Linked DNA regions of Homo sapiens: region 1 is linked to region 2. The links are contacts of gene promoters, found by promoter capture Hi-C in blood cells and fetal thymus (Javierre and others, 2016). All regions are on one chromosome and are shown on one strand. Each heading gives the region's core, a stretch centred on a gene start or on the middle of the fragment in contact. The rest is flanking DNA. Distances are from core to core; before and after follow the strand shown.

What was found. Contacts are between HindIII fragments. The CHiCAGO score rates a contact against its expected background, and 5 or more counts as called.
Region 1: a contact is called between a fragment that was not itself captured here and the fragment with the promoter of CLEC14A in region 2, in 1 of 17 cell types (endothelial precursors). The highest score is 5.2, in endothelial precursors.

The regions. Positions count from the first base shown.
Region 1 is chr14:38,387,950-38,391,444 of GRCh38, reverse strand. No RefSeq gene overlaps it. Among named protein-coding and RNA genes, the nearest start is that of CLEC14A, 130 kb to the right of the region's middle. The HindIII fragment of the contact is 2,465 bases long and covers 902-3,366 here.
Region 2 is chr14:38,254,572-38,257,710 of GRCh38, reverse strand. It overlaps CLEC14A (C-type lectin domain containing 14A), which reads left to right and starts at 1,618. Exons shown (of 1, transcript NM_175060.3): 1 at 1,618-3,139. The coding sequence starts at 1,689. It overlaps LOC112268136 (a long non-coding RNA gene), which reads right to left and starts at 1,666. Exons shown (of 5, transcript NR_169588.1): 1 at 1,266-1,666. RefSeq lists an enhancer at 1,809-2,436. The HindIII fragment of the contact is 4,914 bases long and covers 1-3,139 here.

The DNA of each region.
Region 1 (3,495 bases), core at 885-3,384, 130 kb before region 2:
TTTACTCTCTGCTTTAACTTCTCAACTTTTTCTCTTAATTATACATTAATTATATCTACATTGGGAACATCTATTTTGCTTTTTATACCTTTATAAAGCTCCAGCTTTTATAAGCTACCCCAGAGGCCTCTGACATCTTGAAAGTAGATGAAAACTCACCCATCCTTCATTATCTCTCATATTTTAAATGTTGCTCATTTCTAAGGGGATATTCTACACTCAGTGTTGTCAGTTAGTATTGTATTAGTATGGCCAGGTTCTACATATTTGTATTTATAGAGCAGTTTTTTAAATTACTTACCAACCTATCATTTATTTCTATAAATAGGCTGGAATTCCCCAATCAACATTAGCGATCTTATTAAATGCAGAGATGTTGCCATATTCTTAAACAAGTTTCCCTTTATATATTTCCTTTGGGAAGTATAAAGTTTTATAAGTTTCATTTTCCCTAATCTCCTTTTTATCCTCGATCCTGTATTTTCTGAAAAATATAGCATATCTTTTAACCATACCATGGAGAGTAAAGCAAAAAATAAATATTTTCATGATTCATCCTTTGAGAAAGTTTTTGTTTTATTAAATTTTAGACAAAACCCTTATTCCCTTCATTCTTATGTTTCTATGAAAGGATTTTCAATGCACACATCAAGAGACGATCATATTGGAAAAACACCTATGGATACTTATTTCATGCAGTCTCACCCTGGGTAAAGGAGCAATCCATCTGATTGATGAGACAAGGAATGAGGGAGAGCTTGGCATCCACTGGCCCTGGTAACAGGGGGCTGTGACAACACTGAAAGCAGGGGCCTCAGCTTGTTCCTCTCATGCTTGTTAAAGTAAATGAAAATAGAGACCAGGCTTGACGAATCACTGAGCAGACAAAGTCAGTTAAGCTTCATACATGACCTTAACCTTGCTTGATTTCCAAACATAAGCAAAACTTAACTTGAGCTATTTCTTGTAAATGTCTATCTTGAAGAACAACAGAACTTAGTCTCAACCAATCAAAAGTAGCCAACTAACTTATAATGATACAACTAGAGACTTTCCAATGGGATAGACCAAATAAGCCAACTGTGTGTAGGTAACCCATCAAATATTTCCTTTGCTTTACTTTCCTATTCATCTATATGTTTCCTTTATGGAGCTCCCAAGCTACTTCTGGTTTGGAGCTGCCAGATGCCTGAATTGCTGTTTGTGCAAATAAACTCTTAAAGAATGTTATTATGTCTCAGTTCACCTTTTAAACATCTCCTTGGACTTGTTGCTTTCAAATCATATGTTACTGCTGCTTCTTTACCTTTTCCCTCTTGGTGAACAAAAGAGGACAGATTTTCCCCAGTGTGGTGGGAGGCGTGTCATTCTCTAGCTTGTCTGATGGGATTGGGCACTGAAGTGTGGGAGATGTGATTCCCAGAGCCTAGGTTTAGTGAGGGTCATGGGAGACCCCCTGTGTTCTCTAGACATACTAACAAAGTTGTCTTGGAGTAAAGCATATGGATCAACCAGTTATCTCCGTTGTTTGTGAACATATGCTATTAGTCAGAATTCTGAAGTGGAAGTGGAGCATCTGGTAGTACTTTGGCACAAAACCTCAAGTGAGCTTTCTTTGTTTGGCCTTTGTTTATGTGTATGTGTGTGTGTGTGTGTGTGTGTGTGTTTCATATGTTTTCTAATTCTAAATTTTGAAATAATTTTAGACTTACAGAAAAGTTGCAGAGACAGTACAAAGACTTGCAATGTTTCATTTCTCCAATTTCGCTTAATGTTAACATATTGCCATACAGTGATATACTCATAAAACCTAGAAACTAACATTGGTACAATACTATTAACTAAACTATCAACTTAGTTCACTTGGGTCCTTATTCTGTTCCAGTAATCAATCCAGGATCCTATATTGTATTTAGTTGTCATGTCTCCTTAGCTGCTTTTGATCTGTGACAGTTTCTCTGTCTTTCCTTGTCTTTCGACCTTGACACTTTTGAAAACTAATGTTCAGGGGTTTGTAAAATGTCTTGCATTTTGGATTTGTCTTATGTTTGCTCATATCTTATAAAATGAAGTGATGTTAACCTTGATCTCTTGTTTAAGATGGTGTCTGCCAGGCTTCTCCATGAAAAGTTACTGCTTTCCCTTTTGTAATTAATAAATATTTTCAGTAAGGTAATTGGAAGCTATCTTGTTGCTCCATAAACTTTCTCTCACTAATTTTAGCATTTATTGGTTGATCATGGCTGTAGTGATTACTACTCTAGTGTTCTAATGGTGTTTTCTATCTCCTTCATTTCTTCTGCATTTATTAATTGGAATTCTTCTGTAAGAAACAGTTGTCCTCTTCCCCAATAATTAATTTATTTATTTACTCATATTAATATAAAATCATGGATATTTATTTTATTCCTTGGGTTATAATCCAATTCTATCACCATTGATCCACGAGGAGCTATTTCAGTTGGCTCCTGTGTCCTTTTAACATGCTATCATCTTTTTTGAAAAGCTGCTTTAAATTTGAATAATTTTAGATTTATAGAAACAATGTAGAGATAGTACAGCAAGTCCCCTAATAGACACCCTTTGCTCCTTTTCCCTATTGTTAGCATCTTACATTACCATGGTACAGTCATCAAAACTAAGAAATCAACTTTGGCACAGTACTGTTAACTAACTCCACACTTTTGGATTTCACCAGTTACTCCACCAATCTCTTCTCTCTGTTTCAGGATCCAGTCTAATGTATCACATTACTTTTAATTTTCATGCCCCTCCAGTCTCTTCTGGTCTGTGACCATTTCTTAGTCTTTCTGTGTTTTTCGTGACCTTAACAGTCTTGAAGAGTATTGACTAGGTATCTTGTAGAATTTCCCCAACTCTGGATGTGTCTGATGTTTTTCTCATAATTAGAATTAGGTTATGAGTTCTTGGAAAGTATCCCATAGAGCCAAAGTGCCTATCTCACCACATTATGTCAAGGGGTACGTGATATCCATGTGAAGTCACTGGTGATGTTAACCTTCATTACTTGGTTAGGATAGCGTTTGTCAGATTTCTCTTACCCTATTCTATGGAAGCAAGTCACTAATTACAGCTCACTCTTGTAGAAGAAGGGCTAGGAATAGTGATCCTCCTCCTGGAATGGAGAGTATCTACATAGTTATTTAGTATTCTTTTATCATAAAAATTTGTCTCTTCTGCCCCATCAGCCTTTGTTTTTTTTTCCCTAAGAATACATCCAATTTCTCTTCTCTGAGAGTTCCTTAGGCCACATCTCCAGTTTTTTTTGTGTGTTCTTATTTGTGTTGTTTTCTTCCTGATAATGGTACTTACTCTGTGTATGTTTTTAATTAGTGCTTCAAAGCTTCCCTGGACTCAATTGACTTGCCTTTTGACTAATCTCTTCCACTATTCTCAAGCCTCAGTCAAATGCCTAAGCTGTGCCACATTAGGAGGCTGTTTCTGTCTCCATTCACTGTCGCTAATCTCTTTACC
Region 2 (3,139 bases), core at 369-2,868:
CAGCAAAAGCAAGGTAAGTATGATGATGACTCATAGGCTTACTGTTGTTTGTTAAGATACATGGAATTTCCAGGAGGAAAGAAGAATGAGAGTTATGGTAAAAATAAGATGGAAGCATACAGATGTGATCCTGAAACCTTCCCTCCCACCCCTCATCAACCTGAATGCAGTAAAACAAAGTGAGCTTATATGCATTATCCATGGAATGGCAACTTTCATTCTGATTAAAGATATTTAAAAGCATCAGACATCTCTAAGAGGGCTTAGCTGAAACTCTCTATGTATTTCTGATGGCAACGTATTTGGCCATTATGAACCAAGATAGAATGTACGTTTTCTAAACTGATACTGAATTGTCTAAGTTGCTAACAAGAAATCCTTTCATAACAGTACAGTTTTTAACCTTTACTTCTTTATTCATCTTTAATTCCTTGCCACTTCCCACTGAGTTGAAATGTTTATATTAAAACAAAACACCCACTGGAATTCTAAAGAAATTGGCTCACCCATCTTTCAAATTACAAGATATTTTTTGACAGTATACAATATTCATTATAATGGAATAAACATTTTAATTTCTTAAGGAACTCTAATTTTCCTTAAAGGAGATGTTTACAACTTACTATTATAAATGCTGCCACTCAATCATAGGAGAAAATGATACTAAAATAGTTCAAGGCTAAAATCACACATAGGGCAGTTGTTCTCGAATATTTATAAGGCCACGAACTCATTTATGTATAACCTATAAACTTGAAGAATTTTTGAACCAATACAGTGGCAAGGAAAGCTAACAACCTAACTGTTAAGATCTATGGTCATTATTTTTCATTTAGTCCTAGAAATACATTTCCTTTCTGTAATGAATCAATATGGTCTAACTCAAAGAGAAACACGTGGAAGTGAAAAATAAATTTCTAAAGCAAGTGCTGATGGAAGAAGCAGAATTTCCCATTTAAAATACCCAAACAACTCCAAATTCTTTAGTAGTTAGGACTCCTGAAATCTCTTGACATAATAGAGAAGCAAAGACCCATAGAGAGATATGCGGTTAAATAGTGCTGCCTCTGGTGGCAAAAGCAGTTGCTAAGTTGTTTCACAACATATTTTTCCCCCACAGGCACAGGCCCCCCAAACACTGGAGCCGTCTACGAATTATTCTGACGCTAACTCCACAGCTCCGGACAGAAACACAATAGACGGGCGTGGTCTTATAATCATAAGCCAGTTCCTTTCTCAAGTCCTTCCTGCCTATGTTCGCTTACGTGTTATGGGTTCTGCGGTCCTGATGAAACTCCCTGAACGGAGAAAAACCACACACTTCATCCCAGTGGCGAATTTCTCCTCTTGCTCTAAGCAGGGTGTTTGACCTTCTAGTCGACTGCGTCCCCTGTACCCGGCGCCAGCTGTGTTCCTGACCCCAGAATAACTCAGGGCTGCACCGGGCCTGGCAGCGCTCCGCACACATTTCCTGTCGCGGCCTAAGGGAAACTGTTGGCCGCTGGGCCCGCGGGGGGATTCTTGGCAGTTGGGGGGTCCGTCGGGAGCGAGGGCGGAGGGGAAGGGAGGGGGAACCGGGTTGGGGAAGCCAGCTGTAGAGGGCGGTGACCGCGCTCCAGACACAGCTCTGCGTCCTCGAGCGGGACAGATCCAAGTTGGGAGCAGCTCTGCGTGCGGGGCCTCAGAGAATGAGGCCGGCGTTCGCCCTGTGCCTCCTCTGGCAGGCGCTCTGGCCCGGGCCGGGCGGCGGCGAACACCCCACTGCCGACCGTGCTGGCTGCTCGGCCTCGGGGGCCTGCTACAGCCTGCACCACGCTACCATGAAGCGGCAGGCGGCCGAGGAGGCCTGCATCCTGCGAGGTGGGGCGCTCAGCACCGTGCGTGCGGGCGCCGAGCTGCGCGCTGTGCTCGCGCTCCTGCGGGCAGGCCCAGGGCCCGGAGGGGGCTCCAAAGACCTGCTGTTCTGGGTCGCACTGGAGCGCAGGCGTTCCCACTGCACCCTGGAGAACGAGCCTTTGCGGGGTTTCTCCTGGCTGTCCTCCGACCCCGGCGGTCTCGAAAGCGACACGCTGCAGTGGGTGGAGGAGCCCCAACGCTCCTGCACCGCGCGGAGATGCGCGGTACTCCAGGCCACCGGTGGGGTCGAGCCCGCAGGCTGGAAGGAGATGCGATGCCACCTGCGCGCCAACGGCTACCTGTGCAAGTACCAGTTTGAGGTCTTGTGTCCTGCGCCGCGCCCCGGGGCCGCCTCTAACTTGAGCTATCGCGCGCCCTTCCAGCTGCACAGCGCCGCTCTGGACTTCAGTCCACCTGGGACCGAGGTGAGTGCGCTCTGCCGGGGACAGCTCCCGATCTCAGTTACTTGCATCGCGGACGAAATCGGCGCTCGCTGGGACAAACTCTCGGGCGATGTGTTGTGTCCCTGCCCCGGGAGGTACCTCCGTGCTGGCAAATGCGCAGAGCTCCCTAACTGCCTAGACGACTTGGGAGGCTTTGCCTGCGAATGTGCTACGGGCTTCGAGCTGGGGAAGGACGGCCGCTCTTGTGTGACCAGTGGGGAAGGACAGCCGACCCTTGGGGGGACCGGGGTGCCCACCAGGCGCCCGCCGGCCACTGCAACCAGCCCCGTGCCGCAGAGAACATGGCCAATCAGGGTCGACGAGAAGCTGGGAGAGACACCACTTGTCCCTGAACAAGACAATTCAGTAACATCTATTCCTGAGATTCCTCGATGGGGATCACAGAGCACGATGTCTACCCTTCAAATGTCCCTTCAAGCCGAGTCAAAGGCCACTATCACCCCATCAGGGAGCGTGATTTCCAAGTTTAATTCTACGACTTCCTCTGCCACTCCTCAGGCTTTCGACTCCTCCTCTGCCGTGGTCTTCATATTTGTGAGCACAGCAGTAGTAGTGTTGGTGATCTTGACCATGACAGTACTGGGGCTTGTCAAGCTCTGCTTTCACGAAAGCCCCTCTTCCCAGCCAAGGAAGGAGTCTATGGGCCCGCCGGGCCTGGAGAGTGATCCTGAGCCCGCTGCTTTGGGCTCCAGTTCTGCACATTGCACAAACAATGGGGTGAAAGTCGGGGACTGTGATCTGCGGGACAGAGCAGAGGGTGCCTTGCTGGCGGAGTCCCC